Linked DNA regions of Homo sapiens: all the other regions are linked to region 1. The links are contacts of gene promoters, found by promoter capture Hi-C in blood cells and fetal thymus (Javierre and others, 2016). All regions are on one chromosome and are shown on one strand. The core of a region is centred on a gene start or on the middle of the fragment in contact, and the rest is flanking DNA. Distances in the headings are between cores, read along the strand shown. Region 1 holds the start of RPS3A (ribosomal protein S3A). Region 2 overlaps ARFIP1 (ARF interacting protein 1). Region 3 overlaps ARFIP1 (ARF interacting protein 1). Region 4 overlaps TIGD4 (tigger transposable element derived 4). Region 5 has its middle 5.3 kb from the start of TMEM154. Region 6 overlaps TMEM154 (transmembrane protein 154). Region 7 has its middle 25 kb from the start of MIR4453.

Region 1 (3,737 bases), core at 592-3,091:
GGCAAAACCGCCCACCTGCACCTAAACGTTCCTCAAAAAACCACTAATCTATGCAGCAAGAAAATCTGACTTTGATGATACACCACTATTAAATCTTAGATTTAAATAGTAAGTAAAATATGGTGTGGCAACCCCAGAGTTAGCACTCAACAACGGCAAGAAAACAAAAATTTAAAATGAACTTTGTGGACATTTCACTGGTCTCAATAAATAAATAAAATGAACTTGCTCCTTCCAGTCATCAAACCATGCTATCCTTGGTCAAACACCCATAGCACAACCACTCTAAGGAACTTTGGGTCTCACCTGCCATTTTTTGACCATGGAACACATTTTGTCACGGGTAAGATCCATGCCATGGAAGTTAGTCAGGCAGTTTTTACCCTGAACATCTTCAGTAATCAGCTTGAATTTTCTAAATGCAACTTCATCATTCTGCAAATCAGCAAGACTCACTTCAAACACACGACCCTTGAGACCATCAGATGCAATTTCTACAAAAGAAAAAAACAAGTATCTTAACATTTAGGAACCATATAAGCAAAGTCAAGCCTGTAAACTGAGGGTAGAAATTAAGTTAATGGTAAATTATAAAGACCTTAACCTTTGTTATCAAATCTATCCAGACACCAGTGACTTATCAACAGTACTTATTTGAAGCTCAGAACTACCCATGGCACATTTTCTTAATTCAAAAAGCACCATCTTGCTTCTCTCCAAGTGCTGTACTAAAAATGATCACCACAGGTGCCAAGGCTGCAACCAAGAGCTGACATTTCCTTAAAGTCTCCCACCACAGGACCAACAACAGACCAAGATGCCTGCTACAATATACAAGCGCCAACTTAAGGAAAATACAAACCAAGAATAAGCTACTTACTGGTTCCTTGGGTCCTGGTGACGAGCGTCTTTCCAATATTTCTTATATTGAACATAGCAGGTGCTTTCACATCATACCAATCTTTCTTAGAAAATGGATCAACCCTGGATTTTAAGAAGATGCTTAAGTTCCATTGCAGATCAATTCTTACTGTATTTTTCACTGTTAATGGTATTTCCCATTAATATTTTAAAAAGCTAACCGGCAATTTGATACCAAAGTATATCTCACAGTGAGGTGAGGGGAACAAACATAAATCTAGCTCTTCCCACTGTACGTTTCACTGCATGCATCAGACTTTGAAAGGTTATGTCCACTTCCCACCCTCATCGGTCCATCCACTACACAGGCACTTAGAATAACATGCATCGGTCCTTCCACTACACAGGCACGAGTAACATGCAATCTCATTAACTTTGCTGGCACGTAATGGCATGTACTGGTAACTAAGAGACTGCATGGCCCCAAAGCTTAGCAGGAGCTCGCAGATTCCAGCGGGACCAAGCAAAGGCGAGATTGACGGGTCCTGAATGGATAGAAGGGTGCTTTCCTCAACTCCTGCTGTCGCAGTGCCATCAAACACTCGCAGAATTGAGGCAGCTCGTGAGCCCACAAAACTAACATTCCAGCCGAGTCGCGCCGGCAAGCCGGCTCAAACGCGACGCGCGCAAGGACCAGAAGGCCTGGGAAAGGCAGCCGACCTGCCGCTACTCAACACCGACCCTCCAGGCCGCGTTCCTGGGTGCACCAACCCGCCACGGCCCGCACAATCCGACTGGAATCCTCGCCATCCGGCCTACGCCGCGATCTAGGACCAGCCCGCCGATTCCAGCAGACCCCCAAAAAGCAAGACGCCACGACAGTCGCGACTTACACTTTCTTCTTGGCTCCCTTTTTGCCGCCTTTCGTAAGGCGCTTGTTCTTGCCAACCGCCATGGTGCTGGTCAGAGAGCCAAAAGGGCGGAAGTGGGAGTCGCGCGAGAACTTAGGCGTACGGGGGCGGGGCGCGCCGTCTACGTGACCTTTGCCCTGTTATTCTTCCGGCCTCAAGAATTCCGGGACAGTAGAGAGCGCCACTCTTTCTACTGTGGTTGCGACATCGCCATCGTGTGTGGGGAGGCCGCGCGGCATGCCGCGGGCTCACTGGAGGCTGCGCTGTGTAGACCAAGGCGTCGGTGGCCTGACGTGCAGGCGTCTGGTTACCTGTGGTTTCTGTGGCTGTGACGTCGGGAAGTAAGTTTCTGTAAAACGAGACGCCCACTCAACATCGTTCAAAGCTGAACTCACCGTCTAACCCCCAAACCTGCTTTTTGAGAGCATTGGCTTTGGAGTCAGTCAGCGGATCTGATTCAAATGCCGGTTTCAACAGGGCTTTGCTTGAGACCGACCTCTCCACGCTTGTTTCCTCATGCGTAATATGGGGGTGATAAAACGGTCGGCTTCATGAGGTTTCATAGGGCTAAATGAGCATCACTCCAGAGATGCTAGCGACGTTCTGCTTGTTGATGTGGATGCTGGTTCATCTCAGGTGTTGTTGCTTTGTGAACATTCACTAAGCTCTACGCTTATTTGTGTCCTTTTCTATATGTCTGTTATATATTGATTAAAAGGTTTTTTTAAAATAGAGTGAGACCGAACTCGTTGGCTCACACCTGTAATCCCAGCACTTTAAGAGGCTGAGGCAGGGGAATCAACTGAAGCCAGGAATTGGAGACTAGCCTGGGCCACACAGCCAGACCCCGTCTTTACAAGAAAATGATAAAATTAGCAGGGCGTTGGCCGGGCGCGGTGGCTCACGCCTGTAATCCCAGCACTTTGGGAGGCTGAGGCGGGCGGATCGCCTGAGCTCAGGAGTTCGAGACCAGCCTGGCCAACATAGTGAAACCCCGTCTCTACTAAACATACAAAAAATTAGCCGGGTGGGTGCCTGTAATCCCAGCTACTCGGGAGGCTGAGGCACGAGAATCTGAGCTCAGGAGGCGGAAGTTGCAGTGAGCCGAGATCGCGCCATTGCCTGGCCAACAAGAGTGAAACTGCGTCAAAAAAAAAAAAGTGAGATCTCCAAATGTTTCCATTTTTGCAACTAATCCAAACCCGCCTCCCCCATTTTTTTTAACTGTAGGGGTTAACAGAGCACATCCTGGCAAGGTGTGGCTGGCTAGCTCAAGTGTGCAGCCCTCGGAAAGCATCTGGCCCATACAGGCTTGGTACTCAGCCAGTGGTGTGTTGAGTTCCCTTCTCTAACTTCCCCTCTGGCAGAAAACCCTGTGACCAAGCCAAAACCAACCCTTACTTACAAGGCCCCCTGCAAGCTTTTAAACTTACAATCCCTTCCAGTCCTGCTAGCCTCCATCCCCTACCTCCCACTACACCCACCCCCCAAGACAACCTTCCTAAACCTCTAGTAGGGTCCTGAAATCTTTCAGTAATTCCATAAATCTCAGTTGCCTGGAGGATAAATTCAAAGTCTTAGTTTCATAATAGTATGAATGTACTTAACACTACTGAACTCTACACTTAAAAAAGGTTAAGGTAGCCCTGCCAGGTGTCTCAGGCCGCTAGTTCCAGGTATTCGGAAGGCAGAGGCAGGAGGATCACTTGAGGCTAGGAGTAGGACTCCAGCCTGGGCAACATAGTGAGACCCCATCTCTTTTTTAAAAAGATGATTAAGATGGTTAATTTGGCCAGGTGGTGGCTCATGCCTGTAATCTCAGCACTTTAAGAGGCCAAGGCAGGAGGTTTTCTTGAGCTCAGGAGTTTGATACCAGCCTGGGCAACATTACAAGACCTAATCTCAACTAAAAATAAAAAAAAATTAGCCCGGCTTGATAGCTCATGCCTGTAGTCCCAACTACTC
Region 2 (3,737 bases), core at 651-3,150, 1.8 Mb before region 1:
GACTATATTTCAGAGACAATGGACCCATTTATAATTAACAACATAAAATTCCTAATTTGCATTTTTATGTTGCTGACATTCAATTCAAAGTTTAACACTTTGCAAGGCCAAGCTTAACAAGTGTATAATAAAATGGGATAAACCTGAGTTAACCTTTTATTCAAGCTTTTAGCATAATGCTTGAGTATTTAATAGTTTTTAAAAATATTTTTCAAACAATTAAGCTAAAACAAAATATGCTTTTGGCAAAAGCTCCAAATACATTTTTGTACATTTTAGGTACTTTTAAAAGAATACAAAGTAATATTTGTAGTAATAGCTTTCATAAAGCTGTGAAAAATAACGTCTCCATTTTGCATATTTTAATAGAGGTTACTATAATTATGACATTAAAAACATAAGTTTAGAACTTAAAATTTAGCATGGTAATACTTTTGAACTGTAGTGTAAAACCAACACATGAAGAACACAAAATGTTCAGTAAATTTGTTTTAAAATATATATCCTTGAGAATGTCCTAAGTCTCACTCCTCTTTTGCCCTTGATGACTGAACTTGTTTCCCATGTCTCTAGTACTGTCAGTCCCGCAATCAATTCTTCAAACTAGACAGAGACAGTTTTCTAAAATGTGAACCCAACTGAGACACTCCCATTTTTATAGCATTTAGTGGCTCTCCATTGCCTTTTAGGTAAAGACTAAACTCTTCAATATGGTTTTCAAGGTTTTGCAGGATCTACTATCTACTTATCTCTCTAGCCTCATTTCTCACACACCTGCCCTCACATTCTCCATTCCAACAACATGAATTTCCAGTTCTATGGTCTCACACTTCCTTCGGGTTGTTACAGTTGCTTCTGATGAGAATATTTTTCACCCTTTATCTGGCTAGGTCATCCTTCAGACCTCAGCTTATATAGTAATCACTCAGGTAATCTTTCCATGCTCCCACCAGTACTCAGACCATGCTATACTTGGCCTAGCACAACATTTTTCACATGGTATTAAAATTAATTTGTCTATATCCTCTCTTCCCATTCCGAAGACCATATGCTAAGATCAGGAAGCTTATCTATCTTGTTCACCACTTGTATTCTTGACATCTAGCAGAGTGTCTATTACTTCATTTGGCAAGAAATTTTCTCAGTAACATCTCATGCTTCAAAAGGGACAAAACCTTCCAAAGCATCTACATAATAAATTTTTTAAAGAAACAAACTAAAACACTTATGTTAAATGTTTGATGAATTCTGTTAATTTAAAATCTCCTTTGTTAGTTTAACAGTTAGCTGTCTATAAAAAGTATCTGCCAGAAGCAAAGCTATTATTACAACAGCCTCCACATCCCCAGTTCTGTAACACTATTAACCCCCCTTAAGTGGCCTCTCTGCTTCTCCACAATTATCTTGAGTTTTATAAAACTGATTATCTTCCAACATTCTACTTATCAATATTCTATTGTTAGAAGGCAGGGTCAGCATTTTCTAAACTCTCTATTGGTACTTCTAAACAACCAGTTCTCAAACCTTAATTTCAGTAGGAATCACCTGAGGATCCTGTTAAAAATGCAGATTGCTCTTAGCTGTGTGGTGATTCTCACTGAGTTGGAATGTGAAGCCCAGAAATCCGAATTTCAAAACAAGGAAATCAGGTGATTCTGATGCAGGCGATCCTTAGTCTATTTTGAGGAACTGTTGTAGAGAACTGCTTTCCATTCTTGTGCAACTCTGCCCCTACCCAACCCCCCCGTTTCCTGTGTGTCACCTTCCTCACTGCCCTCGTCCCCACCTCAACATTGTCATCTACCTTCTTTCCAGTCAATTTCAAATATTTATTGAAGACTTTGGCACATCTAGGGCTTCTGCTTTATCCCTAACTCTCACCATTAAACTGGGTGTTTCTAACCTTTTGCATGTTGGTGGGCACATTTTCAGGAAATGATTATAGATGTTCAGTTAGCAATTCCTTCCAAGCTGATATATTCGCTGTCTAGGCTGAAAGTTTTCACCGATCATTAAAAATACAGTCCACTAATGTTATGGTAGGTAGTAAGTTGCTATATTTTAAAATATAAATTGTAAAACACTTAAAATCTGTTCCATGAGCCTGCCTACCTATGCTGATGCAGAATGACAGGGGATAGTAATAATGATATGTAAAGGTATGTGATTTTATTTTCCCTCCGTATACTTGCAGAAATGCGTAAAATTGGTAATCTGGATCAGGTTTGGGAATCTGTAGTTGGACAACATGCCAAAAAAGTGTCAGGGCAGATAAAAGACATTTTAGACTTAGTATAACCCAATCTACACCTTAGTCTCAGATTTCATTAACATCTTCATTTCTAATGCCTTTCATCTTTCATACCCCATATTCCACTCAGGCAACCTAAACTCAAATTGCCACTCTTAGACCTTGTCATCACTTCGGAAGCAACACTTCTAGATTCTCACTTTAAATAAGTTTAATAACTCACTTTATGATCACAATATCCTCCTGTATCTTATTCCATCTAATCAAGAGAGTAAATCTAACATTTTTATTGATTTTTTTCCATTTACCACCATACACACACACACCTGCCTGCCACAGACACACAATTTCAATCTTCTTTTCTCCCTCTCTCCCATTCATTCAACAATATTTAACAAGAACTTACAAGTACCTTTTGGTGGTTCACTGCCTACCCTCTTGGCCTCACCCACTTAGTCTAGATTCTAAGTAGTTCAAAAGCTTGAATCATGTACCAACTTGCATCAAAGAAATACTGAATTCATTCACATACTATCACTGTGGAAATATTTATATGTATCTACATTCAAAATAATTCCTTCAAAAAATTTAAAAACGACATATTCCTAATAGCTTTTGTTTATAAATAACGACACACTCTCAGATTATAATTTAAGACAGATAAGCCTTCAACCTTTCATTATGAATTGTATTTTCAACAAAATTCCTCCAAGAAATAAAAAAAAACATATTACTAATAGCTTTTGTTTATAAATAAGGGCACACTCTCAGATTATAATTAAGACAGATAAGCCTTCAACCTTTCATTATGAATTGTATTTTCAACAGGACTCTCAATCCAGAATTAATTTAATGTATGTGTATATTAAAAATATACTTAAAATTTTAATTTGTAGTAATAGTATTAAAAGTATAGCCTATAGCTGAAAAGCAAACAGTATTAAAATGAATCTAGATTTGTATGGGTTAAACAATCCTTGAAAACCATTTGCCATACCTCTAAAAGGGATCAACATACATATTTGGTCAAAACTGGCTCTCTGAAAAAGCCCCCATCAAATCATTATTGCCATTGACCGAGCTACTACATTTTTTATGTGTGAGTAACGTGGAAACATTATATTGCATTCCTATATAGAATGGAGACAAACTGTAATCACATGCTATGAAAACCCTAGGGTAGGATGGCTGAAGGAGAAAAGATGTCAACTTTTAAGTCTATTTACTAGAATTCATTCTTTTATTGAGCAACTACTATGAACCAAAACTTGTGCTGTGTATACACACTATCTCTGACCTAACAGTGATTCCAATCTCTTGGGAAAAGGAGATAAATAAGTTACAACATGTGACTGGTGGGGGTAGGAGTTGGAGGAACAGTGTTCCAACAATTTCTTGTATTTCTTTCCCAAATCTTCTGCAGATCGTAGTGTATGATATTGCAGACTGCTAAGTACAAGGGAATGAAGAAACGACTTAGCTCAAC
Region 3 (3,737 bases), core at 750-3,249, 1.7 Mb before region 1:
GAAAAAACTACCATTACTGTAATGTTTCTGAGTACTACCAAACAGCTATACCTGTCTGCAATCATCAAGAGATTATTAACTTGTAAACATTAAAATGGGGCGGAAAAAAACAAAACAAAGGGAAAAAGGACCAAAAATCAGATACAGGAAAAAAGACAGTCAATTCACCAAAAAAAAAAAAAAAAAAAAAAAAAAAAAAAATTACAAGGGCCCTCAAGTAACAATCGCTCAAATTCACTCAAAATTAGAGAAATGCCAATTAAAACAACACTGAAATACCATTTCTCATCTATTAGACTCGCAAAAATTTTAAAATATGACAAAACATTCCATTAGTGAGGATGTAAGGGAAACAGGCACTTACATGCATTGCTGATGGGAATACAAATTGGTACAACCATTCTAGAGAGAGTGTTGGTAATGTGTAACAAAATGACATATACACTTAACTTTGGCCCCAGCAATTCCACTTCAAGGAATCCACCCTGGGAATATACCTCCAAATATACAAAGACAAATACACACTCTAGCATTCTTTGTAATTGTAAAATATTGGAAACTTGGATGTGCCATATTCAATTACCTTTCTATGGTAGGAATATGGCACATAGGAAAGTGACTGAATAAACTATGGTACATCCAAGTTATGCAACTGTGGGGGGAAATAAAGAATGAGGAAAATCTCTATAATATGAAGTGATTTCCAGGACACAGTGTTAACTGAAAAAAGCAAAGTCTGAAAAAAGCAAAAAAATCCCTATGGTATGTTATGTTCATGTAAGAATGAAGGGGGATATAAGAAAATACACATTTCTACTGAAAAAGCAAAAACAAACAAACAAACAAACAAACAAACAAAAACACCGGAAGGATAAACCAGAAACTAAAGAGATAGGTTACCTACCCTGGGCAGGTGAGAAAGGGGTGGAAAGAAGAGTGAAAGGGCTTGGGAACAGAGTAGCAAGGCTAAGGATGGAGTGACACTTCTCTGGATACACGATATATTTTGTAATAATTCTGACTCTCAGAACCATAGTAATTTCCACATGCTGACATGGTGTCAGAAAATAAAGAAAACTTCAAAAACAGATGGGGGTTTGTTGAAAGAACACAGGAGCCAACCTGAAGGAGCCCATAACAGCCAATGCTGGAACGAATACAGCAACAAAATAAATGATAGTACTAGATCAAAAACAAGGAGTAAAATATTAATGAGTCCATATTGATATAAACAATCTGATAAGTAAATGGAGGAAAAGCGACAACTCTTCTTCACAATAGACGATAAGTAAATTAACATAGGAAGCAAAGTGGGAAACAATCAACATCAGGCAAATATCACAAATACTGCAGACAAGATCCACTTGAGAGATGCTAAAATTAGAGAGCAATAGTTTGAGGAGAAACAGGATTTACACAGTCTCCACGTAGCTCCAACAAGATACTTACCAACTAAAAAGGGAAAGATAGTAACTTCACAGTGTAAAAACAACACACTCAACCAAGTGATCAAGTAATCATAAGTAGTAAGACATATATCATAAACCCCTCAATACAATGCACTAAGAAAGACACAACATCATTTTTGTGGTATTCTTGCCAAAAATGCATAGGCTCAGTCCAATCATGAGAAAACATCAGACAAACCTAAACTGCGAGATATTCTAAAAATAACTGATTAGTATTCTTCAAAAGTGTCATAGTCATAAAAGACAAGCAAAATGTTAGAAACTTTAAAAGAGACTACGGAGAAATTGCTAAATTCAATGTGAGTTCCTATATAGGACCCTGGGACTGAAAACAGACAGTAGTTGAAAATTTGGTTTCATTCTAATAAGAGCTATAGTTTAATCAATAATATTATATCAATGTTCATTTCCTACTTGTAATAATTATATTATGGTTATGTAAGATGTTAGCATTAGGGGAAATGGGGTGAGGAATGTAAGGGAACTCTACTATTTTTGCAGCTCTTCCGCAAGTCTAAAATTAGATGAAAAGTTTTTTAAAAACAGTAAGAAATTCTGAACAAAGGTAGAGGAATTACCCTTTAAATAAAAGAAGAAAATCTCTTCCAGTGAGGCCAGAATAAAGGAAGAAGGAACCTGTAGAGATAGTGAAGAGTAACATGGAAAAATGGAAGGTTCAGGCAGTTCGTTTTTGCTGTCTTACTTTCTTGTGAAATAGGAGTTATCATTTGACCGCCTGTATAAAACAGCACCAATGAGGAAAATATAGTAGGTCCCCCACCTTATCCATGTTTTAGCTTCCCACAGTTTATCAGCTGTCAACCATGGTCTGAAAATAAACCTCTCTTCTTTATAAATTACTCCGCCTCAGATATTCCTTTATAGCAACTCAAACAGACTAAGAAAATATGTTGTTATAATTGTTCTATTTTATTATTACTGTTGTTAATCTCTTATTGTGTCTAATTTACAAATTAAACTTTATCATAGGTATGTATGTATAGGAGAAAACTTAGTACATATGGAGTTTGGGACTATCCACAGTTTCAGGTATGTGGGTCTTGGAACATCTCCCCCAAGACTATGGGAAGACCACTGTACATCATTATCATTCAGCTCTGGAAAAGACCAAATAACTCAAGGCAGATAGAGAAACATAAATCAAATTTCTGAGAATTACAGAGATAGGTACTAAATATTATATATATATTATATATATATATATCATTTTTTTTTTTTTGAGACGGAGTTTCGCTCTTGTTGCCCAGGCTGGAGTACGATGGTGCTATCTCGGCTCATTCTTTAAGTGCTCTGATCCACTTCATATTTATTTCTTAAAGGTCTTCTTGTTTATAACTTTGATAACAAAATACATGGGAGTAACAAGACTTAAGAAGTTAATGACCTATATAATTTATGCTGTTTAGGTTATACATTTTCTAATTTTTGTATGAATTCAGTTATCTTTGAAAGCTGTCTTTAAAACAGAGTGATAAATTACTATTACAAAACCACCACTGATGTTCAGCCCTCACAAACCAGTTATATTGGAGGCCAAAATGTCATTAAGTCATCTCTGGGGGTTCTACTGTAAATCAGCCAGAGGTATTTGCTAACAAAAGAGTGTAAGAACCAAAGACCTACAAAGTGAATTATTAATTAGAATTTGTCACCTCAAGTTTAAAATCCATCCAACTCTTTGTAGCTGCTTTGATTTTACTATAAAAATCACATTTTTATATATACATACTGAATAGACCAAATCTATACAGAGGAAAACCTTGTAAGATCATTTCCCAAATTTTAGTGAGGGAGAGTTTTATACTCTACCACTCTTAAATGCATTTAAGGTCTTCTTAGCACCCAGGAAAGAGAGGGCAGGAGGTATTAGATTTGCCAGGATCCCTAAAACCCCTTCAGAGTCTCCATGACAACACTGAGTTTAAAGATTCAGAAGTCTAATGATAAAGGATCTGTGGCAGGAGTGTTGTTGAACATAAATCATAATGGGAGCTTTTCAAATTCAGGTACTCATATAACAGGTGGTCTGAAGTGGTATGCCCAAGACACAGGAGGGCAGATACAACCATAGCAGACAAGATAAACATGGCACATCATACTGGAATATGAATTTACATTATTTTTCACTAAATATAGAATCTAAAGCAAAATTCACTTGAATAAAACAACACACATAAGTCTTCAAAGAAATTTACTGAATTTTTATGATAAAATATGAGTCTTCAAAGAAATGTCTAAAGGGTTATT
Region 4 (3,737 bases), core at 486-2,985, 1.7 Mb before region 1:
AATTTTGGCAAAAGTTTTGTCAAAAGATTTTGTGCAAAAAGTTGTGCATCACCTGGGAAACCAGGAAGCCCAGCAAGAAGAATGGAGTGCCCACACTCACACAGAAGTAACACTGCTCATCAAATTAGCTTGTTATTATCTTGGCTGCCCCACAGATTCTGATAAGGGAGGTGCTGACTTGGGAAAGTAGAGGTGAGCCTATCTGGGGCCATGTGACTGTTCTCATGGCTTAAGAAAAGCCCTACTTTAGGCCGGGCACAGTGGCTCACGCCTGTAATCCTAGCACTTTGGGAGGCTGGAGGCAGCCGAGGCGGGCAGATCATGAGGTCAAGAGATTGAGACCATCCTGGCCAACATGTTGAAATCCCGTCTCTACTAAAAATACAAAAATTAGCTGGACGTGGTGGCGTGTGCCTGTAGTCCCAGCTACTTGGGAGGCTGAGGCAGGAGAATCGCATGAACCTGGGAGGCAGAGGTTGCAGTGAGCCGAGATTGTGCCACTGTATACCAGCCTGGGCGACAGAGTGAGACTCCATCTCAAAAGAAAAAAAAAAAAGAAAAGCCCTACTTTGAGTATAGATTTAAGGTGGGATTCTTGCTTCTGTTTGCAAGTAGGATTTTATAGTTTTCCAAATTGTAGATTCACACAGCCAAAAGACATGAGAGAGATAATGATGATGAGATCATCACCACCTATTTGTTGAGCACTTTCTTAAAGTACTAAATACTGTGCTACGTGCTTTACACTCTTTCATTGAATCTTTTTGAATGCACAATAATGAGATAGGTGCTGTAGTTACTCCCATTTTACAGATAAGGAAGCTGAAGCTTCATATGGTTAAGTAAATTACCTGGGATCACATGAGTACTAAATAGCAGAGTCACTTCTCAATTCAGAACTGCCTGGCACCTTTTTTTTTTTACAGATAGAAAGTAGAAGACCTGAGACGTTAAGACTTGTGGTCACTATCCTTCCTGTTCTTAGTCTACATCTTTTTCTGCATTATACTCTCCTAATTGTTTGTTTCTATGCCTTTTGTCCAGTATTTCTGGCCTCTGTACCTTCAGCTAATGTGTCAAATTAATACAAAAGTTACTGAGTTCTTAGCCTACTAACAGGATAAGGGTTAAAAAAGAAAAAAGAGAGAAAAATTTTAAATCATAAAAATAAAAAGGTATTGGGTTTTTAAGCTTTTAGGTCGAATGGGATTTAGATTTTTTTTAAATAGAATTGTCACTTGATTTTTTAGGGAAGCATTTTCTGTCAGACTCCTATAAAAGAGACACTGTCTCCCATATGCTATTAAAAGTTGAACCTTGTGACTACTGTCTGAGTATGTTTTCTTTTGGAGAAGTTAGAGGGTGCAGTCTGTGACCTCATGTGAAAAATAGCCACCAAGCATCTATCCAGCATCATTTTTAGTTCTTTAATTTTGGTAAGCCCACATTTTCAAAATAGATTAAATTTATCTGATTTATTTCAGAACTATATATTATAAAGCATTCAAAGGCAAGTGAGAATTCAAATCTGTAGAACAGAACTAGAGAGCTTTTACAGAGAGGCCTTTGGGAGGTAAGCATTTCTCTTGGAAACTTTATTGTATTTTCAGAACCATGCTTCTATTATTTTCATTATTAAGAACATAATAATTGGGTATAAGCATTATTTTAATATTCAATTGACATATCGCTAAAATTGCTTTTTTTTTAATTTTTCAAACAACAGAAGAAGATATACTGGCAAGTTCTAGAAGGATTCTACCATTTTCTTCTTTACCATGAACAAACTTGAAAATTAATGGGTAATAGTTGCATGAAAACTTTTGAACGTTTTTTCTTATCTCTGAGGCCTTCTATGGAGAATTAATAGGAGGTTGAATGTGTGCATGGATAAAATGGATCATCTTAAAGGATTGAAGTTCCAAAAATACATCAGCAGGACTGGACAGGTTTTATATAATGAGATTTCTATTTTAGCTTGACTTCTACAACTCTGAATAAGCTATAAACTGAGCTATACAAGGTACTAGGAAGGAAGTTTCTCTTCTAAAATATTCTAGTTGCATATAATATTTTTCTTCAGATCTTTGAAAAAGCATATTTTGTCATCAAGTTCCTACAAAATAAGACTATTAGACACCAACTTTTAGTGTATAAAGTAGGATAGAAAGCAGCAATCTATATTATACTGGAAAACAAATTTAATTAAAGAAACAGTCACCAGGAAGTTAAGAAGAGTAATCTCTACATAAGCACTGGCTGAGATGGCAGAAGCTTCTGTGGATGCCTCAACTCTGCCTGTAACAGTGAAGAAAAAGAAAAGCCTATCCATTGAGGAAAAGATCGACATCATAAATGCAGTGGAAAGTGGCAAGAAAAAAGCAGAGATTGCTGCTGAATATGGAATAAAGAAAAATTCATTGTCTTCTATTATGAAGAATAAAGACAAAGTTCTAGAAGCCTTTGAATCTCTAAGATTTGATCCAAAGAGAAAAAGACTGAGAACTGCTTTTTACACAGATCTGGAAGAGGCATTAATGAGATGGTATCGAATTGCTCAGTGTCTAAATGTACCAGTTAATGGTCCGATGTTACGTCTAAAAGCTAATGATTTTGCCCAGAAACTGGGCCATAATGATTTTAAGTGCAGTAATGGTTGGCTGGATCGTTTTAAATCCAGGTATGGTTTAGTATTCAGAGCTCAACCTGTAGAAGCTACAGGTGTACCAGTAGACCCTTCGACTGTCTGGTACCAAAATGTACTTCCTTATTATTTAAATGATTATCATCCTAAAAATGTTTTTAATATAAAAGAGACTGGGCTGCTTTATCGAATGTTACCTACCAATACATTTGCATTTAAAGGCGAAACATGTTCAGTTGGAAAGTTATGCAAAGACAGAATAACTCTGGTGGTTGGCACAAACATGGATGGCTCAGAGAAACTTCCTTTGCTTGTCATTGGAAAAAAGAGAACTCCACATTGTTTCAAAGGTTTAAAATCATTGCCTGTGTGTTATGAAGCTAACAGAATGGCATGGATGACCTCCGATGTATTTGAACAATGGATGCGAAAGCTTGATGAGGAATTTCAAGCCCAGCAACGAAGAGTGGTGATTTTTGTTGAGTCTTTTCCAGCACATCCAGAGGTAAAGAACCTAAAATCCATTGAGTTAGCATTCTTTCCATCATGTTTATCTTCCAAATGTATAGCTATGAAACAAGGTGTTATTAAAAGCCTTAAAATCAAATATCGACACTGTCTTATCAAGAAATTTTTAAGCTCTGTTGAAGGTAGCAAAGAATTTACATTTTCACTACTAGATGCAGTTGATACATTGCATCTTTGCTGGAGGGCTGTAACCCCAGAGACTATTGTTAAAAGCTATGAAGAGGCAGGATTCAAATCTCAAAAGGGAGAAAGTGACATAACAAATGCAGAGAAGGATACTGGTCTGGATTTGGTTGCTGATGCTCTGGGGGCAGGAGTAGAATTTCCTGAAGGTTTATCTATAGAAGAATATGCTGCCCTGGATGATGATTTGGAGACATGTGAAGCAGCACCAAATGGTGATTCCATATGCACCAAAGAAAGTAAATCGGATGAAACTGGATTTTACACTTCTGATGAAGAGGATGATGATGGATCTCCAGGAACTGAACTCCCTTTACCATCAAAATCTGAGGCAATAACTGCTTTAGATACTCTGAAAAAATTTCTCAGAAGTCAAGATATG
Region 5 (3,737 bases), core at 345-2,844, 1.6 Mb before region 1:
GGCCTGGCCCAGCATCAGAAAGGCAGGGACATAAACTACCAAGTTGCAAGGACATAGATGAAGAACTGTAATTCAGAAAAGGCATGAAGAACCGGGAACAATGATCTAGTCTACTCCAACGGATTGCCAGTTTTCACGAAGAGAGAATGTAACAATGAGATATGTAAGCAAGTGACCTCTTGCTGCATAGCAAAGTTGTTGTGGACCTTTGGGTGCTAAAGCATGGTTACCAACACCAGTGCTTATTGTTATGTGTTCGTAGCTGAGACGATCATCACTGTAGACATGACGACTTTTGTTCCTGGCCTCAGATAAGCTTTGCATTTGCTGCTTCACAGATAGCGAAGCAACCACATCATGTTTCTTTCCGGTGTATTTGCCTGTTTATTTCCTTCCTCCTGCCCTGATTTCACAACTGTCATGCTTCTCCAACCCACCCTGTTTATGGCTGTCTATTTCAATTCAGTGATGCCCAGCTGTTTGGCAGTTCTGGAAGGCACCACCCTCTATTCTTATCCTGGCAGGACTGTGATGTTGCTGTAAATACAGGCCTTCGTTTCTGGATCTCAGTGATGATGGAAAGGCTTGAGGACCTGGCTGGGTTGTTTGTAGCAGGTCCATGTCTTTAGAAGCTTAGGTCTACCTTTGCCTCTGAAAATCTTTGTATGCGCCTCCCCACCAGGAATCTGATAGACTCATGGAATGTGAGTGCCGGGTCTTAGAGATCATCTACTCAGCCCTACTGTTTTACATATAAGGCAAATGGAGGCAAGAGAATCTCATTAGTGAAAGAACTAAGACTGGGACCTTGGGCTTCTGGTGCTCAATCCAGCGGACCCACCATGTCTCATCACATCCATCCTTCCCTGGAGAGAGTGCATTGCATTGTTACTGAAATTATCATGAATATAAGTGGCAGGATAGTAAATGAAATTCTATAAACATAATATGCATTTGGGAGTCCTGGACACTCTCTGTTTATACACCTACCTGAACCCATCCAAACTAGGAAATTAGACCATTTGATCTACAAAAAGGAGGCCATTCTAAAATATAAACATAAGGAGTTAATTCTTAGCTCTTGGTCCTCTAAGGACTGAAGAACCAATGTTGTATTTTAGAGACAACTTTCCCTATCAACTCTTTGGCATTCTGGAGGCAATTCTAGAAAAAAACGGAAGTGGGGGTAAAGGGTGGAGCAAGGGAGGGACCCAGAAATAACTGAAGTTACTCCCAAATACCTGGGAAATCACTAAACTGATCATATTAGTAAGTGACTGCATTTGGTTTACCACTAGCAGAAGAATTGGAATTCAAAGTTGATGCTGTAATAGAAAACTAGAGCAAGTTACCATTTTCCCATATCTGAATTTGTTACCTGGGAATTCTATACCTCCGGCCAGTTAGCAGGATTGTCATACCAACTGCTAGTACAGGAAACAAAGTGGAATAACACTGCTAGTTAATATGTATAGAAAAAGATCTGGAAGAACTTAAAAACAGAATAATTTTGATTCTGCTTTTTATGTATTTTTAGTTTTTCCACAACAAACATGTATTGTCTCTGTAATATGAAAAATAAGTTATTTAAATTGAAAACTAGTCACCTGTTACCTTCTCTCACCTGATACAATATCCTCTCAAATTTTGCTTATTTCTGGCACTACCCACATATATACCCTGGCACTGGATATACCCTAGCATCTTTCCTAATTATTTTATTTTATTTTATTTTATTATTTTTTGAGATAGGGGCTCCCTCAGTTGCCCAGGCTGGAGTGCAATGACGCAATTATAGCTCACAGCAGCCTTGAACTCCCAGGCTCCAGTGATCCTCCTGCCTCAGCCTCTTGAGTAGCTGGGACTACAGGTAGGTGCCACCATGCACGGCTAATTTTTTTATTTTTTGTAGAGACGGGATCTCACTGTATTGCCCAGGCTTTCTTTTATAATTTGCTACATCCTCCAAATCTTTTGTTCCTTTGTTTTTTCTAGTTCCATTGGTGTTGAAGATTTAGTTCGCAAGGGCACTATCAACTGTGAATCGGGAAAGTCAAATTCAACAGAAAAGCAAAAGAAGAATCATTGAGGCCATCAATCTGCATGTATCATTCTGGAGTGGACTTTGGTATAAATACTATATATTTATTAATGAGGTATGTCCTACTTGCAAAATATTTGGAGAGACTTGGGTGGAAAAGGCCTTAAGATATGATTTGATCAAAAACAAAACAGCAATAGAAGAAGAAGTCTAGTTCCTTTTAACAGATGCAGGAGACCACAGATGAGTGAGACGAGGGTAATCAAGGCGGGGAGACAGAGACACAGCCAGGTCTTCTGGTTGTATTCTGATGGGTGTTATGTGGGTGGCAGTAAAGGATGAGCATTTTGTTCAGCTTGGGTTAGGGGGAGGAGGAAGGCTTCTAAGATAGCTCCCTGGTGGAGATGTCTTCTAAATTAGGGCTAGACAGATGAGTTACAGTTAGCCAGGAAAAGAAATATTCCTAGAAATGGTAAAGACACCTGGGCTAATAAAAGTTACACAACCAAGCTTCAACTTTTAGTTCCAGGCCTCCTGGCAGTCAAGGCAAAACAGGAAAATACAACGTGCTTTTTATTTCTTACCTTTGGAGAAAAGGGACCTTTCTAGGAACTAGCAATAATTTCCAGGAACTAACTAACACATGATTCTCGAGTTTTATCTATCATGCATAAAAATCCCCTCAAACATTACAAATACAGAGTTATGGACCTCAGCTCTAGGGATTCTGACTCAATAGTTCTGGCATAGGGTCCAGGACTCTGAATTTTAACAAGCTCCCCTGAATAATTCTAACATAGGTGGCCCCCTCCAGTGCACTTAAAAAAATACTGCTGTAAAGGGATTTTCCCCCCATTTACTCACTTCTCTGTTCTCTGTCCTAAATGCTGAGGATAGACTGGAGAGCAAGACAGAGAATGCCATTGCTCTCAGAGGGCAATTAGAGGAGGACTGTGGATGTTCAGCAGTGAGCTGCTGCTCTGTCTCTTAGATACGCCCCAGCACCCTCTAGCCCAGAGCGCTGCACTGTGTCCCACGTGTCAACTGCCACTTTAGCTCCTAATCACAATCCTTTACAGTTTCATGTTGTGGTGACCAGGCCATCTACCTAGGCCCTGGAAGACCCTGTCATGGAAGCCCCTAGGATTATCCAAACCTTGCAACAGTTTCTCTGAAGAGTATTGGCAGCCAGGATGCAGAGACAGAGACCCCCAAGGGTGGAGATAGGCTGGTCAAGATGAGCCCGGCTGTGCAGGCTCCAGCTGCCCCCACTTCACGCGCAGTGAGATGGCTGTCAGCCCCTCTCCTGGCTGTGGCTTCTCTGCACACGCTAAATGTCAGCCTAATCCTTCTGCCCCAGCCTCTGCCCTGCCCGGCTACCTCTCTGGGCATTCCTTCAGAACCTGGGACTTCAATCTGCCTCCTCCCTGCACCTTCCTAGCTGGCTTCAGAGTGATACACAGGCCCCACCTGATGTTACTATTATCTTGTTTGAGGGCCAGCCCACAGCCAACCAAACACCCAGGAACCATCCACTGTCACTAGCAGGCATTTAGACAGAGAAAGAAGCTCCAGAACATTTGTATGTGAGTGTCGATGTGAGAGCGTGTGTGTGTGAGCACGTGTGCACATTTCTGAGTATGTGAGTGTGCCTGTGGGTGTGTGTTGGGAGACTGGATGTACAAATGGACAGTGG
Region 6 (3,737 bases), core at 779-3,278, 1.5 Mb before region 1:
TGAGCCGAGATTGTGCCACTGCACTCCAGCCTGGGTGACAGAGCGAGACTCCATCTCAACAAAAAAAAAAAAAAAAAAAAAAAAAAAAAAAAAAGAATTATTGCTACCAGAGGCTTATCAAGGTGTGATTTCAAAAAAGAGCCACTCAGCTAACTTGTACAATTTCTAACAGTTTTTCATATTGAGGAAAGAAGGACTCTGTAAAGCCATTCTATTTGAGGATGGGGCGGGTCATTGAGATAGTCCTTCAGGAGTCTCGTTTTGTTGTTTTTCAGTTGCTAAAAGTAATATGCATACATAGTAGAATTTGGAAAATGCAAAAAAAAAAAAAAAAAAGGTAGAAGAAAAAAATTCACCACAGAAAGGCAATCTCTTCTTGCTATGTTGTTGTATTACGTTTTGTGCCAGAGATTTTGTGAAATATAAAATCATGATTCTGTCATACTCACTAAAACCAGAAAACTGGAAAAGGCATTTCTATTTGACAACTAAAGCTGAGTTATTTTGACACATAGGTGATAGAATCAAAGAATTTTTTTGCCCTTAAAAATAACGAGTGGTGTAATAGAAAAGAACTCATGACCATAGGAAGATCAGCTGTTTTCCCACTTTACCCAATTCTTTCCTACCGTGCAATCTGATGGAAATCATTCTGCAGACACGTTGGAACCTCAGGCGAAGCCATCTTATTCCACTGTCTATCCTGAGACATGCAGATTCTAGCTTTTGGAGCACTGGGGTGCTGCAGGGACAGAATAACCAAGCAGTGATGAATTGTGTCCTTTCCAGTGTCAGAGGCATGTTGAAGTTTTGCATCTGTGTTATTAGTGCTTTTTCCATTTCAAGAGCCTTGACATCATTAATCTTTTCATCACTATCACTCCTTGGTGAGGCCATTTTTGTGCAAGTAACCACGCAGATCAGAGAACTATGGTATTTAACTGTATCAGGTTTGTGGATAGAAAATACGATTTCAGTAACTAACAATGAGTTTGCTTTTATTCTGTCCTAGCCGACTTTGAATGTTTACCTACCTTGAAGGAAGAGAAGGAATCAAATCACAACCCAAGGTACTTCTCATTTCTACCACAGATTACATGTATATGGCGGGGGGCGGGGGGATTGGGAACCAGGGTGGAACACTTTTTGCTTACCTCCTCCGTGCCTATAATTCGTATGAGATCATTTACGCGGCTGGATATGTGCATAGTGTGGAGAAGAGGAAGTGTGTTACAGAAAATAGAAGGCCACAAAGTAAATATCCTAGGACTCTTTATCTTTAGAAATAAATGAGTATTGACATTTTCTTGCCCTTCTAAAGAGACACTGTTGCTTCAGCTTCTGTTTTAGTCATAAAGCTTTCCAATTATGACAAACTGTAGGTTTGTTTACCTTGGATAAATAGATGTTTGGTAAGGAAAACAGATGGAGGCGACAGTCTTAAAGTGGGTAACTGTAAACTAGAGTGAGAAAATAAATGGGAATTTTTAAAAAATGTTCCATTTTACCACTAGGTGGCTCTGGTTGATAGAAAAATTTTAGTGCTTTGGGGTTTGGGTGTATAGTTTAGCATTCCACAATCTCATTTTAAATTATATTATCTTTTGTGAGGATAGAAATGACCACATTTGGGGTGTTTTGATTAGAGAACTGTTTTGTCAGGACATGGGAAGTGTTCTAAGGAAAAAGGTTGGATGGTTCAGAAGGTTGGGGACTGGCTCTGCAGAGCTCTGCTGTGACCTTGGAGGTACTGAGTTGTTGGCAGCAAACACTCATGGACACCCGGAGAGAAGAAAACTTGAGCCTATGCCTGAGATATCACACTTCTGTTGGAATAAATGGAATAAACCTTCAGGCAGGATAAATCCTCTCCCTCCATGTTCACCAGAAGTCTGGTGCCAGTCAGTCACTTGTCACCAGGCAACCCCTGAAGCCTGAGCATCGCGAGGGAATACTGATTATTAGGCAATGGTTGGGGGCAGTCAGATGTTTATCTTCGGACCCTTTTCCTGCGTCTCCCCCCTAAACCTCACTTAAGAATTCACCATCCCAAATCTCTCCTCACATCACACCACCACAGTCTTACTCAGACAAACCTCAGCTCTGATGCCAAAGTCTATACCTATTGTAGATTTAGGTCAATATCACCACCCTAGGCATTTTCATGTTAAGATTATTGCCAGTTCAGGAAGGATTCTATCCTATTTAAAAGAGATTCCAGGTCATGCTTGGTGGCGCTTGCCTGTAGTCCTAGTTACTTGAGAGGCTGATGTGAGAGGATTGCTTGAGCCCAGGATTTCAGGATTGTAGTGAGCTATGATTGTACCACTGCATTCCAGCCTGGGCAACAAGCAAGAGCAAGACCCTGTCTCTAAAAGAAATGGGGAGAGAGAGAGGGAGAGAGAGGGGGAGAGAGAGAGAGAGAGAGATTGATTAACAAGCAGGTGGAAGAAAACAACAATGCCAGGGGGAATATTACAAAGGAATATTTTCCCCATGTTTTGATCTTACCTGGAAATATGTAACTATATATGTCTGGTATAGGGCTCAGATCACTACTAAAACTCCATAAATATCTTAAGTATCTTATTACTCTATCACTGATGAGCAACCTCAATGATGCTAAAAACTACCCTCAGTGGTTTTTACATTCCTGCCTTTTGCTCTTTGAAATTGTTGGCAACATGGAAGAAGCTTAACATTACAGAATTGTATGGCAGTGAAATCTTCTTAAAAATCAGATTTTTGGCCAGGCAATGTGGCTCATGCCTGTAATTCCAACACTTTGGGAGGCTGAGGCAGGCAGATCACCTGAGGCCAGGAGTTCGAGACCAGCCTGGCCCACATGGTAAAACTCCATCTCTACTAAAAATACAAAAATTAGCCAGGCGTTGTGGCGGGCACCTGTAATCCCAGCTACTTGGGAGGCTGAAGCAGGAGAATCCCTTCAACTGGGAAGGCGGAGATTGCAGTGAGCACTGATCACACCATTGCACTCCAGCCTAGGCAACAAGAGTGAAAGAAATTCTGTTTCAAAAAAAAAAAGTCAGATTTTTGAAATAATGAGAAAATGAGCTAGAGCCTTCACATAGTTAAATGATTGTTTTAAAAGGGAAGGTCTACATTCCACTGTGGGTCCAGAGCTGTGTGGCATTCACAGGATGGCTGTCAGGCCTTCACTTTATGCCCTCTCGTAATGCCAGCACCAGCATTCGAGAACCAAGAATGGCAAGTCCCAGATCTTTGTACCACTAGGCACTTTCTGATTACTTCAAAGGTTATTATGATATTGCAAAGTTAATTTTTTATTCATTAAAAAATCTAAGAAAAGTACATTGGATTTAGAACAAAGCCCAGAACAAAGTAAGTTCTCAATAAGCACTGGTTATTGCTAGTATAATTATTAGGAAGTTAGGACTGATGTACAGAAACTCACTGCCTTTATACTAAGACCCAGCTCACTGGATTAAAAAAAAATTCACTTCCTTTATCCTAAGCCTGTATCCTAAGACCCAGACACATCAATACTGGTGGGCGAAGCATTATTTTTGTCCCTGTGTTCCCTGGTGGTTTCTTTCTGGACCTACCAATCCTGGGAAATCAGGAATTTGTTTGATCTACTATGAGACTTTCAGTTCTCCTTAATTACTGGCATAGGCCCATTAATGTTGGTGATTTCAGAATAGTCCACTTATCACTCTGGAGTTTTTTGGTGTTTTGTTGTTTTGTGTAGAGAC
Region 7 (3,737 bases), core at 368-2,867, 1.5 Mb before region 1:
CCAAGGCAAGCAGGCAAAGGGGTTGATTTTGTTCCATCCTTTGTCCAATTCCAGGTGATTATAGTGTGTCACAGATGACTTACAAAATCATACATACATAAACTTTCTGACTGTTTTAAGAGATCCTAATTCTGATATTCATTTATATGCACCTTCAGTTTTATTGAGATGCTTTCCCTGTCTTCTTACATTTAATCTTGAGCCTTTGTTTTTGACCCAATCACTTTTACTTAAATTCATACTAGTCATACTCCCTAAAGTGTTTATTTCTTCTTTGGCAGTAAATATTTTCCATCTTGAAGAATCTTGTGGTCAAGAGAATAAAACAGCTCTTTTATTTGTTTGAGAAAACAAATAAATAAATCTGAGAACAATTAGAAGTTCTCAGATAAGGAGCAGTTTATTTTCTTTCTATACCACACATTGACTAGCAGTCCTGTAGTTGGCACTCAATAGTTACTTACTCAAAAGAAAATAGATGCTAACGAGGGCCAGGCGTGGTGGCTCACGCCTGTAATCCCAGCACTTTGGGAAGCCGAGGCGGGCAGATCACGAGGTCAGGAGATCGAGACCATCCTGGATAATATGGTGAAATCCCGTTTCTACTAAAAACACAAAAAATTAGCTGGCGTGGCACGCGCCTGTAATCCCAGCTACTCGGGAGGCTGAGGCAGGAGAATCGCTTGAACCCAAGAGGCGGAGGTTGCAGTGAGCCAAGATCACAAGACTGCACTCCAGCCTGGGTGACAGAGCGAGATTCCATCTCAAAACAAAACACAACAAAAAACAAAATAGATGCTAATGAATATTACCTTGGATATTACATTCATTTGTTCACCCAGTTTCTGATAGCTCCTTTTATATCATCCTAGAATGAAAGTCAGGGGCACAAGGCCAGGCGCGGTGGCTCACGCCTGTAATCCCAGCACTTTGGGAGGCCAAGGTGGGCAGATCTTGAGGTCAGGAGCTCGAGACCATCCTGGCTAACATGGTGAAACCCCGTCTCTATTAAAAATACAAAAAAAAAATTAGCCAGGCGTGGTTATTTGCTAGGAAGGAAGATCTCATTATTCTTTAGGTTAAAAAACAAAAACAAAACACAACATAACTAGAGACCACCTTTTTGGGGGCAGTTGGCTGTAGTCCCAGCTACTCGGGAGGCTGAGGCAGGAGAATGGCGTGAACCCAGGAGGCGGAGCTTGCAGTGAGCCGAAATCACACCACTGCACTCCAGCCTGGACGACAGAGCGAGACTACATCTCAGAAAAAAAATAAAAAAAGTCAGGGACACAATAAAGCTTCATAGACTTTTTAAAAAAAATTAATAGACTTTACTTTTTAGAACAGTTTTAGGTTTACAGAAAAATGAACAGGAAAGTACGGGGAGTTCCCATATACCTTCTTCCCCTACCACAGCTGCCCTCATTATTAATATCTTGCATTCGTGCGGTACATATGTTATTTATAACTGATGAGCCAATATTGATACATTATTATTAACTAAAGTCCATAGTTTAGGACTCAAATTTGAACCTCATTAGGGTTCAATTTTGGTATTGTACATTTTATGGATTTTGACATATATATAATGACATGTATCTAATATTACAGATTATACAGAATTGTTTCATTGCCCTAAAAATCCCCTGCCCTGCTCTCCATCGATTTATCCTTCTTTCCCTCCCTGTGAGCCCCTGGCAATCATTGATCTCTGTAGTTTTGCCTTTTCCAGAATGTATGTAGTTAGAATCATATGTATCTATTGCAAACTGGCTTCTTTCACTCAGTTATATGCTGTTGTTTCCTCCACATATCTTCATGATTATAGACTTTAAACACTTCGTCATCTCTATTAAACACCTACTATGTGCCATACATGGTGATGGGTGCTGAGTAGACAAGACAAACAAGATTACTGTTCTTGATCTAAGCTTTGAAATTGTTCAATATTCAGTGTCCAGCAACAATGAATTTTCCAAGGCAACAAGCACTGTTCCCGGTATGCTGAAGCTCTTCTCTTCATTCCCTGAGGAAATCACTTGCTTACATCATCATCTATGAGGAGATCAATGTTACCCATAATCCCATAACTGATTTACCATTTTCCAGACTAACCAGTACCAGCTCCTTCATGTAACAGGAATGAGCCCTCCTGATTTAGTTTACAATGCAGATCCTCTTCTAATTTTTTTTTTTTTTTAAGAGACAGTGCCTTGCTCTGTCACCCAGGCTGGACTATAGTGGTATAATCATGACTCCCTGCAGCCTTGAACTCCTGGGCTCAAACCATCCTCCCACCTCAGCCTCCCAAGTAGCTGGGAGCACAGCTGCATGCCACCATGCCCAGCTAATTTTATTTATTTATTTATTTATTCTTTTGTGGAGACAGGGCCTTGCTATGTTGCCCAGGCTGGTCTTGAACTCCTGGCCTCAAGTGACCCTCCTGCCTCAGACTCCCAAAGCGTTGGGATTCGACACTGAGTCACGGCACCTGGCCCTATTCTAATTCTTGACTACAAAACTTGATGAAGGAAGAGAAAGGCAACTGCCCCCAAAAAGGTGGTCTCTAGCTGTGTTGTTGTTTTGTTTTTGTTCTTTAACCTAAAGAATAATTAGATCTTCCTTCCTAGCAAATAACTAACATACATCAATTCATTTCTGCCTATTGTCAGCAATAAAATCTAAAATTATAATTAAACTTTCAAAAGACAATTTATGAATCACCAATAATCTTGATGAAAAAATACATAAGGCATCCTCCAAGTCTTTGGCTGGTTTTTCCCCCCAAGATAGGCAAGATACTCTTATATATGGTAGGTTTCATTGGATTAACAAATGGAGGAATCTAGTCCTAGGTTCTAATCAGTTTTGTTTCATTTAAAAACATTTCATGTTTCATGCTTCTTATCCTTGTTCATTATTGTTCACTCTTAAGATGGAACTAAATTGATGGATCTCCATGATAGTTAATGGCAGTTTTAAGTTTTCAGTGAATGTGGGGCATAGTTTACCGTAATTTAAGGAGCAAGAATTTATCCTTTTACACAGAGAGTACTTAAGCCATTTGAATTCTGCTGTGTTTATCTCCTGATAAGACTAGATAATGTTAAAAATTGAATATATTACCAAACAAAGCAGTCTAATTGTACATATAATATTAGAAACAATAGTTCTAAGAACATGAAAATATACAGCAGACCAGTAAGTTATTTTAGTTTTGTTTCCCCTTTAAGCACTGAGGTTTTCTGTACTACCCGTGTATTACAGAGTCATGAGAACCAAACCGGTTTTAGCCAGATTAGAAAATAGACTACATAGGATGATATCATGATGCTCGAAGAGATGAATTAAATAATTAAATCTCTGATTAATACAGGAACACAATGGTGATACTGAGATACCCTATTTGTCATTGAATCTTTTCCTAGATTTTATTTTAAAGTCTTAGGCCTACAAAAGAGGACTGTCAAAATGGTTATTAAATCACAAAGAATGTGAACGCCCACAAACAGACAATTCTTTTCATCCCTGCTGCAAGAAAGAAATCTATAACTGAAAGATAAGAAAATCTGGAAATGGGGCTATATGTAATATATTAAATTTTATATCAAGAATTGTGCATCTGTTTATGACCAAAAAAAAATTTCTATACCAAAGATAAGAAGGGGATGTGATGATTTCAGTTATTCAGGATGATTACTATTGGTAATAAAAAAGAGCATTTTAAAATGAAAAAT

Evidence for each region. Contacts are between HindIII fragments. The CHiCAGO score rates a contact against its expected background, and 5 or more counts as called.
Region 2: a contact is called between a fragment that was not itself captured here and the fragment with the promoter of RPS3A in region 1, in 1 of 17 cell types (monocytes). The highest score is 5.7, in monocytes.
Region 3: a fragment that was not itself captured here is called in contact with the fragment with the promoter of RPS3A in region 1 in 2 of 17 cell types (total CD4 T cells and naive CD8 T cells); the score reaches 6.3 in total CD4 T cells.
Region 4: a contact is called between a fragment that was not itself captured here and the fragment with the promoter of RPS3A in region 1, in 1 of 17 cell types (non-activated CD4 T cells). The highest score is 5.6, in non-activated CD4 T cells.
Region 5: a fragment that was not itself captured here is called in contact with the fragment with the promoter of RPS3A in region 1 in 1 of 17 cell types (non-activated CD4 T cells); the score reaches 7.0 in non-activated CD4 T cells.
Region 6: a fragment that was not itself captured here is called in contact with the fragment with the promoter of RPS3A in region 1 in 4 of 17 cell types (naive CD4 T cells, monocytes, fetal thymus and 1 more); the score reaches 10.2 in naive CD4 T cells.
Region 7: a contact is called between a fragment that was not itself captured here and the fragment with the promoter of RPS3A in region 1, in 1 of 17 cell types (total CD8 T cells). The highest score is 5.7, in total CD8 T cells.

What each region holds. Positions count from the first base shown.
Region 1 is chr4:151,097,732-151,101,468 of GRCh38, reverse strand. It overlaps RPS3A (ribosomal protein S3A), which reads right to left and starts at 1,841. Exons shown (of 6, transcript NM_001006.5): 1 at 1,755-1,841; 2 at 881-984; 3 at 307-494. The coding sequence starts at 1,816. RefSeq lists enhancers at 918-1,501, 1,522-2,081, 1,502-2,086, 1,385-2,584, 2,862-2,931. The HindIII fragment of the contact is 1,842 bases long and covers 1,353-3,194 here.
Region 2 is chr4:152,848,515-152,852,251 of GRCh38, reverse strand. The region is part of intron 2 of ARFIP1 (ARF interacting protein 1); the gene reads right to left. Among named protein-coding and RNA genes, the nearest start is that of ARFIP1, 70 kb to the right of the region's middle. RefSeq lists enhancers at 996-1,654, 1,541-1,835. The HindIII fragment of the contact is 1,666 bases long and covers 1,068-2,733 here.
Region 3 is chr4:152,792,285-152,796,021 of GRCh38, reverse strand. All of the region lies in intron 1 of ARFIP1 (ARF interacting protein 1), which reads right to left. Among named protein-coding and RNA genes, the nearest start is that of ARFIP1, 14 kb to the right of the region's middle. The HindIII fragment of the contact is 5,339 bases long and covers 1-3,737 here.
Region 4 is chr4:152,769,532-152,773,268 of GRCh38, reverse strand. TIGD4 (tigger transposable element derived 4) reads left to right here. Exons shown (of 2, transcript NM_145720.4): 2 at 1,727-3,737. The coding sequence starts at 2,265. Among named protein-coding and RNA genes, the nearest start is that of TIGD4, 8.3 kb to the left of the region's middle. The HindIII fragment of the contact is 1,083 bases long and covers 1,194-2,276 here.
Region 5 is chr4:152,683,404-152,687,140 of GRCh38, reverse strand. No RefSeq gene overlaps it. Among named protein-coding and RNA genes, the nearest start is that of TMEM154, 5.3 kb to the right of the region's middle. The HindIII fragment of the contact is 1,919 bases long and covers 635-2,553 here.
Region 6 is chr4:152,638,261-152,641,997 of GRCh38, reverse strand. It overlaps TMEM154 (transmembrane protein 154), which reads left to right. Exons shown (of 7, transcript NM_152680.3): 6 at 1,013-1,070. Among named protein-coding and RNA genes, the nearest start is that of TMEM154, 40 kb to the left of the region's middle. The HindIII fragment of the contact is 1,336 bases long and covers 1,361-2,696 here.
Region 7 is chr4:152,559,395-152,563,131 of GRCh38, reverse strand. No RefSeq gene overlaps it. Among named protein-coding and RNA genes, the nearest start is that of MIR4453, 25 kb to the right of the region's middle. The HindIII fragment of the contact is 633 bases long and covers 1,301-1,933 here.